3 separate regions of the Homo sapiens genome follow, and regions 1 and 3 are each linked to region 2. Evidence: promoter capture Hi-C in 16 types of primary human blood cells and fetal thymus (Javierre and others, 2016). All regions are on one chromosome and are shown on one strand. The core of a region is centred on a gene start or on the middle of the fragment in contact, and the rest is flanking DNA. Distances in the headings are between cores, read along the strand shown. Region 1 has its middle 85 kb from the start of CEP78. Region 2 holds the start of GNA14 (G protein subunit alpha 14). Region 3 has its middle 69 kb from the start of GNAQ.

Region 1 (3,899 bases), core at 23-2,522, 500 kb before region 2:
ATCATGCCACTGTGCTACGGCCTGGGTGACAGCAAGACTCTGTCTCAAAAATAAATAAATAAATAAAATAAAATTATAAATATTCTTGAATAAACTACAGAGGGAGATTTTGTGATCTGGGGCTAGGCAAAGATTTTTGGTAGGACACAAAAAGCATAAACTTTATTAAAAAAATGGATAAGTTGAACTTTTAAATGTTTGCTTCTGAAAAGACTCTGTTAAAAACATGGAAAGGCATACCACAAACAGGCATGAAATCTTTACAAAACATATATCTGATGAAGAATCTGTATCCAGAAGTATGCAGGACTCTTATTATTCAATAACAAGAAGAAACTAGTTCAATTTTTTTAATGTACAGAAGATTTGAACATACACATCACAAAGGCTATACAAATAGCAAGTGAAAAGACACTCAATTTCTTTAGTTATTAAAGAAATACAAACTAAAACCATAATGAAATACCATTACATATTCATTATAATGACTAAATTTTTTTTTTTTTTTTTTTGAGATGGAGTCTCTCTCTGTCACCCAGGCTGGAGTGCAGTGGCCGATCTTGGCTCACTGCAAGCTCCGCCTCCCAGGTTCAAGCCATTCTCCTGCCTCAGCCTCCTGAGTAGCTGGGACTACAGGCGCCTGCCACCATGCCCGGCTAATTTTTTGTATTTTTAGTAGAGACAGGGTTTCACCTTGTTAGCCAGGATGGTCTCAATCTCCTGACCTCCTGATCTGCCCGCCTCGGCTTCCCAAAGCGCTGAGATTACAGCCGTGAGCCACCGCGCCAAGCCTATAATGACTAAAATTTAAAAGGCTGACAATAACAACATAGGCAGGAATATGGTGCAATTGGAGTTCTCAGACATGGCTGGTGGAAATGCAAAGCCACTTCAGAAAACAGATTAGTCATTTCTCATATATTTAAACACAAACTTACTACATCACCCAGCAATTTCACTATTAGGTATTGACCTGACTTAAATGCATACAGATGTTCATACAAAAGAATATAAAGGTTCACAATGGACTTTATTCATAGTAGCTCCAAACTAGAAGCACCCCAAATGTCCAATAGGCTTAATGAACAAACAAATCTTGGTTATCCACAAAATGGAATACTAGTAAACAACAACAAAAAAGAATATGATTTTTGCACAAACAAATAAATCTCAAAACCGTTAAGCGCAGTGCAAGAAGCCAGACTCAGGAGACTACATACCATATGATTCTATTTTTATGACATTCCAGAAAAGGCAAAACTGTGGTGACAGAAATCAGATCAGTGGTTGCCAAAGAGTGGAGGTGTGAAAACAGGGTCAAATGTTATGTGACAGAAGGCAATTATGGTGGGTGATGAACATATTCTATACCTTGATTGTGGTGGTGGTTACATGACTACATGCATTTGTCAAAACTCATCAAACTGTACATTTAAAACACATGAATTTGGCTGCGGCGACGGCAACATGGAGAGCGGGGCCTATGGCGCTGCCAAAGGCGGGCGGCTCCTTCCACCTGCGGGCGCTTCCTGACGCAACCGCAGGTGGTGGTGAGCGCTGCGTGCAGGGTCTTCGCCTTGATCGTGTTCTCCTGCATCTATGACAAGGGCTACAGCAAGTCTAAGCAGAGGTACTGCGTTTTCAACCATAACGAGGACGCCTTCCGCTACCGCAATGCCATCAGGGTGCTGGCCTTCCAGGCCTCGGCCTCCTTGGTGGTCGACGTTTATTTTCCCCAGATCATTAATGCCACTGACCGCAAGTACCTGGTCGTGGGTGACCTGCTCTTCTCAGCTCTCTGAGCCTTCCTGTGGTTTGTTGGTTTCTACTTCCTCACTAACCAGTGGGCGGCCACCCAACCGGAGGACGTGCTGGTGGGGGCCAACTCCGCGCAGGCAGCCATCACCTTCAGCTTCTTTTCCATCTTCTCCTGGGGCGTGCTGGCCTTCCTGGCCTACCGGCACTACAAGGCTGGCGTGGACTTCATCCAGAACTACGTCGACTCCACCCTGGACCCCAACACTGCCTACGCCTCCTACCCAGGTGCATCTGTGGACAACTACCAGCATCTGCCCTTCACCCAGAATGCGGAGACCACTGAGGGCTACCAGCCGCCCCCTGTGTACTGAGTGGCTGAGTGCCGTTTGGGGTGGGAAGGGGGGCAGAGAGGACCCTCCCCTCTGCCCTGGACTTTCCCACGAGCCTCCTGGAACTGCCAGCCCCCCTCCTTCGCCTGTCACGTCCTGTGCGATTGACACACAGCTAAGGAGCCTCCCAGCCTCGGGGTCTGGCAGAGCCACACCCCAAGTGCCCGCACACAGATGGCTTCAGTCAGCCACTCACTCTTCCATGACACTTTTAGGAAAGGGTTTTTAGCTAGTGTTTCTCCTTGCTTTTAATGACCCCGGCCCCTCCTGGAGTGGCTAGAAGCCAGCAGGCACCCATGTGCTACTGACAAGTGCCTCAGCTTCCCCCCAGCCCAGGTCAGGCTGTGGGAGTCGCTGTTATCTGCGTTCTCTGCCAAAGACTCGGGGGAGCCCTCACACCTGCCCTGTGCAGTGGGGCGGGACCAGGCTCCTGCGTCCTCACTCAGGTTTGCTCCCCCTATCCCCACTGCTGTATGATCTGGGGGCCACCACCCTGTGCCAGTGGTCTCTGGGCTGCCTCCCATGGTGTGGGGGTGGGGCCGGTGCCCACAACACTTCCTCCTTGCTCCCACTCCTGGCAGCAGGGAAGAGCTTTGCCTGACAACACCCAGCTTTATGTAAATATTATGCAGTTGTTACTTAAGAAGCGTGAGGAGGGCAGGGGTGCCCCATGGCTCCCAGACTCTGTCTGTGCTGAATGTATTATAAAGCCTTAGGGGAGATGCCCCGCCCTGGGATGCTGTTTGGAGATGGAATAAATGTTTTCTCATTCCAAAAAAAAAAAAAAAAAAAAAAACATGAATTTTATGGTTTTTTAAATGTGTTTATACCCAATAAAGCTGATTAAAATTTCTAAAAATATTCTGTTCATTTCTACCTTTTACTCCCCTCACATTCTGTAGTAGTTATTAGTGCTGTTCATCAAAGATTCCCAGCTCCCACTTTCCAAGCACATAATGGGTTTGCACTTCTTGGTTCTCTTGTGATTGGATGGAGCCATGTAACTAATTATGGCCATTGAGTCGTGAGAGAAGTGATATCACTTCCCTATGGGAAAGCTTATATGACCATGCAACGAGCTCCAGGACGCTCCCTATCCCTAGGCCAACAACCAGCAATTTTGAGATTATGGCTGCTCTGTCAGCATGAGCTTTGATAGACTCCAAAGTTTCCTTCTGAGCTAAATAGATATGGAACATGAATAAGAAATAAATTCTTGCTGTTTGAAGCCACTGAGATTTTAGGATTGTTTGATGCCACTGTATAATTTTTATTTTCCAGGATAATAAAGAAGATGGTACCTAGAATTGCTGGGGGTGCCATTTAAAGAATTATATACCAGTGTACGTATGTAGATAGATACTACTTACATACATGCTTAGGAGAGGCAAGGAATTTTTTTTTTTTTTTTTTTTTTACCAGAGTCTGGGAGAATGCTTTCCAGATTTATATGAGGGTGAAATATTTGGTTAACTGTTACCTAAGAAAACTTGGAAGGCAGATTTATGTTCTGAATTAGTTCATAGGCCTGGGGAAGAGGTTGAAAAACAGAAGGCATTTGTTAATTATTATCGTTATTATTATTATTTTTTTGAGAAGGAGTTTCACTCTTGTCACCCAGGCTAGAGTGCAGTGGTGCAATCTCGACTCACTGCAACCTCCGCCTCCCGGGTTCAAGCAATTCTCTTGCCTCAGCCTCCCCAGTAGCTGGGATTACAGGTGCCTGCCATATTAATTATTATTAAATGCATT
Region 2 (3,779 bases), core at 1,155-3,654:
GTGGAGCCTAAATAATTTTATGCAAGCTGCCCCAAATTTTTTCTTTCTTTTTTTTTTTTTTTGAGACGGAGTTTGGCTCTTGTTGCCCAGGCTGGAGTGCAATGGTGTGATCTTGGCTCACCACAACCTCTGCCTTCCGGATTCAAGCAATTCTCCTGCCTCAGCCTCCCGAGTAGCTGGGATTACAGGCATGTGCCACCACACCCAACTAATTTTGTATTTTTAGTAGAGATGGGGTTTCTCCATGTTGGTCAGGCTGGCTGGTCTCGAACTCCCAACCTCAGGTGATCTGCCCGCCTCGGCCTCCCAAAGTGCTGGGATTACAGACGTGAGCCACTGCACCCAGCCCAAATTTTCTAATGAACAATGAAAATCAACCAAACAGCCATGACTCACAGCAAGCTACCTTTTTGATGTGTGTCCCTTCAGTCTCTTAAAAATGTGTATGCGTATTCTTATACTAAAATCTTATCATACTCTTTATATTTTTGGATCTTGCCTTTTTCATTCAATATATTTTGAGGATTTTCTCCAAATTTATTCACATGTTTACTACTCGCATATCCACATATTTAATGGCTCCAAAACATCTCATTGTATGGATAAACCATGATTTAAGTGATCTCTTCCCTGTTGTTAGGTATTTAGGTTGTGAGTTTTTGTTGTTGTATTGGCAATAAAACCTTTGCATCAGTCATGAGGCTTCTTTCTAGTTATTTCTTAAGGGAGAAATTACTGGTTTGGCCGAAGGGGACGGACATGTTTAAGGCTTCAGATATATACTGCCAAGCTGACTAGCCCAGGAAAGTTGTACAGATTTGCCCTAATCAATATGTTTCATAACTGTTTTTGAAATCTTGCCAACTTTAAACCTAATAGGTCAGTATCAGTAATTCCCGTTAACGTAAGAGTTCAAATTTGCCCTAGTTTTAATCATTTAAAAATTTTTTATAATTTTTAAATGATAACAATTATGATGCAACCATGACTTTGAGAAGCCAAGAGATCTTATTCTCAAATTGTAAATGAATCCGTAAGAGCTAAGAGAGAAGAAACAGGCTATTAAATGGCCAAAGATCAAATCTGAAATGTCCAGGAGTTTTCCTGTAGGGGTCACTGTTACTGTCAATTTATGCCTGCAAGAAAACTAAAATAGTCACACATTAAAGCATGTATGCACATTTTTAATGTCTGATTCCTCTACATTTCTTAAACTGTAAAATAATAAGAACATGCAGCCAGATAGCATCGCGATACCAACTTCTTTATATAATGACACGTACCATTCCACTCAATGTGCTCCTCAGTTTGAATTTATAAAATATATGCTACTCAAATGAAAGGCACTTATGCCTGCTCTTAGTAGAGGAAGCGCTAGCTAATTGCCTAACGCCCCATTAGCATATGGCCTATACTGACTTGAGAAGGAAAGAACGTTCATTGCTGTGGCCAATAGGATCCCCTCTCCCCACCTTCCCTTTTCTGCATCAAAATCTACACAGACAAAAGTCAGATGTTGTAATATGCATTTTATCGTGTCACTTAAGTACTAAGAGGTGCTTTTAAAGTTTTTATTAATGCTGCTCAAACTTGACCCCGACGGTCCAGGATACAGGCCAAGGTGTCAGTGCGGACACAATCGCAAGGCGGCTGTTAGGCTTCAGGGCTGGGCAGGAAACTTGCCAGGTGCTACTAGGAACGTATCAGCCCTTTCTACAAAGCAGGTGTCTTTCCCATCATAAAATGCAAAGCAATCAGCCGTTCCCTTTCTCCCCAGCCCCCTCGTCCGGAGACCGAGAGGATATTTACCCTGGGCTCTTGCAGTTCTCTTATAACTGAACCCAGCGGCGGCTCCTTCTCCGAGCTCAGAGCCAGCAGGCTCAGGCCCAGCCACACTTTACAGGCAAATTGCCGAGCTGACCAAGGGCTTTGGCCAAGCCCGAGCTGGGCCGGGGCGTCCGGGAAGCGGAAGGAGCCAGTCTAGGAAATCCGGGTGTGCGTGGTGGTGAAGCTGGTGGGCAAGCTTCCACTTCAGGTCCGGGGCTTTGTGTCCCGCAACAGACGCTTGGCGCCGCTCCTCTTCCAGCCTGCTGCCGCCTTCTCCGAGCGAGTGAGTTGGCGAAACTCACTCACCTGTCGGAACCCGGTGCCTGGCGGCCAGACGCGCAGATTACAGCAAACCTTGGCCGGGACGCCCCAGCCAGGGAGGCAAGTGTGGGAGCTGCTCCTAGAGGTGCCAGCTCCCACCCCCAGCTCCGCGCCCCCTGCTCGTCCCCTTTCACTTCCAGGCGCCTTCGGCTTGGGGTGCCCAGAAGGGCAAGTCCAGCAGACGCCAGGGCTGCAGGTTCAAGATGCTCCGCCTCCTCCTGCCACTTAGAGCCACAAACGCTAGCGGGAACCTTTCCACTCAGTCTTAGTCTGCGGTCACTGCTGAGGTTTTCAGAACTTTCCAGGCAAAGGCCAGCCAGGTCCTTTGCCTCCAACCCACTCCGCGCCTACCTCCCGCCTGGGGACACCCCTAGGCCCAGGAGATCCTACTCTCCCCCGAGCACCGACGTTCCAACTCGTCTGCGCCCCCGACTGCTGTCCGGCTCCTGTGCCAAGGGGCGCGCGCATCTTCCCGGGGCCAGCAACGCTCCCAACTTCTCGACTCGCCCTCCTCCTCCCCAGAGCGAGAGTGGGGCGGGCTGAGCCCGGATCCGGGGTGCACTCGAGCGTTCCCAGCGCTCGGCATTCACCCCGCCTCAGAGCCGACTTTCGAAGGGGGATTGAGCCTCGGAGGTCCAGGCGTCTTACTCCAAAGCTCAAGTCGGCCCCCGTCTTTTCTTTCCACACCCCTGTGCCCGTCGCATGCTGGCCGGGTGAGCGGCCGGGCCGAGGATTCGGGTGCCCGGGGCCGCGTCGCCCCGTCGGGTACTGAGCTGAGCGCACCATGGCCGGCTGCTGCTGCCTGTCCGCGGAGGAGAAGGAGTCGCAGCGCATCAGCGCGGAGATCGAGCGACAGCTTCGTCGGGACAAGAAGGACGCGCGCCGTGAGCTTAAGCTGCTGCTGCTGGGTGAGTGGCTGCGTCTCCGACTCCAGTGAGCCGGGCGTTTTTCTTCCGAGCCCTCCCGGCCTCTCCACTGGCACCCGCGCGGCCCTGGAGCCCAGCGGGGTGCAGGGCGGCTTCGTCCTTCTCCCCCTCGGAGCTCACGGATGCCAGCAACTTGGGGCCTTAGGTGCCTGTTCTTTCCATCTCTGGCTGGGCGACTTGCAAAAGCAACACCTTCCCCTGCCCCAAAACAGGATAGGGACCTGTAACACTTAACCTCTTGACCGCTGTACCTTATGTGTTCCGGTGTGCCCCTCTCCTCAAAACCCCGTCCACTCCTCCGCCCGCAGCACACCCAGCTTGGGGTCTGTGGTGACCCACATCTTGGGTTCAGCGCTAGCTCTGACCCGTACGCTTTCAGTTCTAGATGAAGCATCTTGAGAATTTACCATGTGCCAGATCGTGCTAAGTTCTTAAGGGCATCACCACCTGGTGATGCGGGCAGGTGATATCGCTATTCTAGAGAATTAAAACATGGAGGCCTGGAGAACTGACCAACTTGCCCTGATTGAGAAAAGGCAAAGCCGATGCTAGGTCAGCTGTGGGGGTGAAGCCCATGCCGTTGCTGCTCCTCTGACCGTGAGCTCCTATGCCTGCCTCCCATGGGGGTCCCTCAGGCCTTTGTGTTTGCAGCGGACCCAAACCTCCCTTGCCCAGCTTGACTCAGTGTGTCCACGTCCTAGGATT
Region 3 (3,728 bases), core at 166-2,665, 450 kb before region 2:
GCAGAGGAAAATCCCTTTTGTTCCACCTAAAAAACATCATTGGCTTCTAGAACATGAATACTATGCTCACGAGTAAACCTGCTCCAAGGGATACTTCTGAAGATGGTTATTTAATAGCTTTAGCTTTAGAAGAACAATTAGGGTGGCCATTAGTTTTCAATATTTCAAGCACAAATCTTTTAAATAGCATCAATCTCAAAGCAATGTAGAAACTACCCATTTTCTTGAGCTTTTGTCTCAATCAATGCTGTTTAAAATAGTTAAAAAAATAAATTTCATTGAACATGAATTAAGTCTTAAATCAAATGATTTGCAGGATTTGAAGGACTTTTATCCATTTAATAACTTGCTAAGATGAGACTATGATTTACTTGGTAAAAAAAATTATAGCCCATGAATCACTGGGTTACCACTCATTAATTATTATTGACTGTGTTAGGATAGTATTTTACAGAAGAAAAATATCATGACTTTCACAGTAAAGTAAGCATTACAATAAGAATGACAATTTGTTCATGAAAACTAGTAGCAGAATTGAAAAGGGCCTCTGGGGCAATTGAGTTTCTCCCCAAATTTGTTGACTGAATAGCTGCCATTATTCTTCAGGGCTTTCTCAACAGGTGGCTGTCAGATCCAGGTCTGCCTGCTATTGGTAACAGCATTTCTTCAACATCAGCCAGCATCAGGCCCCATTATCTTGAACTCTTTATAAGCTTTCTTTCCTTCAGCTTCAAAATTTCTTGCGTTAGTTCATAGTCTTTCTTGCTTTTATAGGAAATTCCAGATCTCTCCTTTTCTAAATCAAATTTGATCTGTTAATAACATATAGCATGTACCTATTTAGAATGTCATCTTCCCCTTGCAGACTTTCAGTAAATATTTTATTGTCAAGGTTTGCCCACATTTACTCCTATCCAAATCTGATTAATCGACTTGCTGAATGGTATTCACTATGAAAACTTGGTCCTCAATGTTGAGTCTTTAAAACAAATATATTTGTCTAGTTATTTGTCCATCGATTCACCCCTGCATTTCCTCACACACACTCAGAAATTGGCACACAAACTGCATATGCATAGCTTCTAGGGGCTTGGAGAAAGCATCAGTTAGAGCCTGCTCCCCAGAGCTGCCTTATGTTGTGATGTAGATGCACATCAAGTTTAGAATCAAGAATGTTAGAGTGAAAGTAACCAATGAAAAACTGAGGTCCAGAACTGTTACTGTGATGTGCCTGAGCCACGGCCACATTGAGTGAAACATGATGCACCTCACCTTCTAGGTTAGTGCTTTGTCTTTCTGCCCCCCTTGTTTTCCTGTGTGAATTTGATCTTGAAAATTAGCCACGTGTGAAGCAAGCCTAAATCAACACTCCTCTGTAAAATAGACAAGGTGAATTCAAGATTACTGTGACTCAGCTCTTAAATTCTGTCATTTAACAATCAACATTTCTGTGAAGTAAATAATTACTCCTTAATTCATATTCTTTTTTTTTTTTTTTTTTTTTTTTGAGAGGGAGTCTCGCTCTGTTGCCAGGCTGGAGTGAAGTGATGCGATCTCAGCTCACTGCAACCTCCACTTCAGGCGATTCTCCTGCCTCAGCCTCCCGAGTAGCTGGGCACTACAGGCGCGTTCCACCTCACTCAGCTAATTTTTGTATTTTTCTAGAGACGGGGTTTCACTATGTTGGCCAGGATGGTCTAGATCTCCTGACCTTGTGATCCACCCGCCTTGGCCTCCCAAAGTGCTGGGATTACAGTCATGAGCCATATATTCTTTTTTAAAAAATAGAATTTTAGTTTAGAATATCTTTCAATGTACTTAATTTTTGCAAAGATAGTACAGAGTTCTCATACACCCCACACCCAATTTCTCCTAACATTTTTTCCTGTATATTTGTCACAATTAATAAACCAATATTGATATATTATTATTAATTTTATTTTCTTTTGTAACATTATAGTTTGGTTTTACATTAAAGGAGATGTGCTATCATTTTTTGAAGGGAGTATGTAATCTTATCTGATATATTACATGAAAATTATCAGCAAGTCATAATTATTTAACGTTATTCTTCATATTTCTGACCTCGTGTCCTTTTTTCCAATGTACAAAGCTTTCATCTATTTGTTAATCAAATACTTATATTGTGTTTACTGTGTGTCAGACACTGTTCTAGGTCCTCTGTAAACAGTAAGCATTTAATCCTCATAACATACCTACATATTATTATCATCCTCAATTTGGAGATGGGAAATTGATGCTCAGAGAATTTAAGTAACTTGCTCAAAGTCACACAGTGCAATCTAGCTCCAGAGTCATGTTCTTCGTCTCACATGTGCTCCTATGCTTCTCTAGGGGACAGAATCCAGCCTTACCTTGTTTATTTCTATAACCCTTCGCCAACTCCTGCACCATAACTTGCAAGTGGTGTGGTAGATGTATTACTCTGCTCAGGCTGCTGAAACAGAATGCCACACACTGGGTAGCTTACACAACAGAAATGTACTTTCTCACAGTCTTAGAGGCTGGAAGTCCAAAATTAAGGTGCCAGCAGGGCTTGTTTCTGGGAAGACCATTTTTCCTGGCTTGGAGATGGCTGCCTCCTCTCTGTGTCCTCACAGGGCCTTTCCTCTGTGCATGATGACTCCTGATACCTATTCCTGTTCTTGTAAAAATGCCAGTCCAAGGCTGGGCGCGGAGGCTCACGCCTGTAATCCCAGCACTTTGGGAGGCTGAGGTGGGCGGATCACAAGGTCAGGAGTTTGAGACCAGCCTGTCCAACATAGTGAAACCCCATCTCTACTAAATATACAAAAATTAGCTGGGCATGATGGCACATGCCTGTAGTCCCAGCTACTCGGGAGGCTGAGGCAGGAGAATCGCTTGAACCCAGGAGGCAGAGGTTGTGGTGAGCCGAGATTGCACCACTGCACTCCAGCCTGGTCAACAGAGCAAAACTCCATCTCAAAAAGAAAAAAAAGAAAAAAAAAGACAGTCCTTTTGAATTAGGGCCCTACACTTGAGCTCTCATTCAACCTTAATTACCTCTTTAAAGACCCTATTTCCAAACAGTCACACTGAGGGTGAGGGTTTAAGGCTTTAACATATGGATTTTGGAGGTGGGAGATGGGGGTTGGAACATAATTCAGTCCATAAAAATAGGCAATCACAAATGTCTGCTAAATTGAATTTACATTTTGAAGCAATGCACCCAATATCCAGTCAAGCAGGCAGTTTTTGTTGTTGTTGTTGTTGTTTTAATTTCTTTTGAGACAGGGTCTCACTCTGTCACCCAGAGTGAGGCACATATCACTATGCCCAGCTAATTGTTTTTTCTTTTTTATAGAAACAAGGTCTCCTTATGTTGCCAGGCTGGTCTTGAATTCCTGGGCTTAAACCGTCCTCCCACTTCAGCCTTCCAAATTGCTGTGATTACAGGCATGAGCCACTGTGCCCAGCCAGTTGTTTTTGTTTTTAATCACCTCAGATGCACATTTGCGATAATATTACAGTTATATCCCAAGTCTTTTATTGTGCACACCATCATCTTCATAGTTTATCTCCTATTCTTTCCAAGTCATTTCCAATAAACAAGACATTTGCCATTGAAATTATTGTTACGACCACACACATTTGTAATTTTTTCCTCATAAGCTTTTATAAACACATCATAGTGAGATCAAGGCAGTTAATTTATCATTATAAAAAAAATCACTGGGTGCAGTGGC

Evidence for each region. Contacts are between HindIII fragments. The CHiCAGO score rates a contact against its expected background, and 5 or more counts as called.
Region 1: a contact is called between a fragment that was not itself captured here and the fragment with the promoter of GNA14 in region 2, in 1 of 17 cell types (neutrophils). The highest score is 5.6, in neutrophils.
Region 3: a fragment that was not itself captured here is called in contact with the fragment with the promoter of GNA14 in region 2 in 1 of 17 cell types (erythroblasts); the score reaches 5.1 in erythroblasts.

The regions. Positions count from the first base shown.
Region 1 is chr9:78,148,762-78,152,660 of GRCh38, reverse strand. It overlaps the pseudogene SYNGR2P2. Among named protein-coding and RNA genes, the nearest start is that of CEP78, 85 kb to the left of the region's middle. The HindIII fragment of the contact is 3,871 bases long and covers 1-3,207 here.
Region 2 is chr9:77,646,947-77,650,725 of GRCh38, reverse strand. It overlaps GNA14 (G protein subunit alpha 14), which reads left to right and starts at 2,404. Exons shown (of 7, transcript NM_004297.4): 1 at 2,404-3,056. The coding sequence starts at 2,933. The HindIII fragment of the contact is 2,117 bases long and covers 2,026-3,779 here.
Region 3 is chr9:78,099,003-78,102,730 of GRCh38, reverse strand. No RefSeq gene overlaps it. Among named protein-coding and RNA genes, the nearest start is that of GNAQ, 69 kb to the right of the region's middle. The HindIII fragment of the contact is 1,400 bases long and covers 716-2,115 here.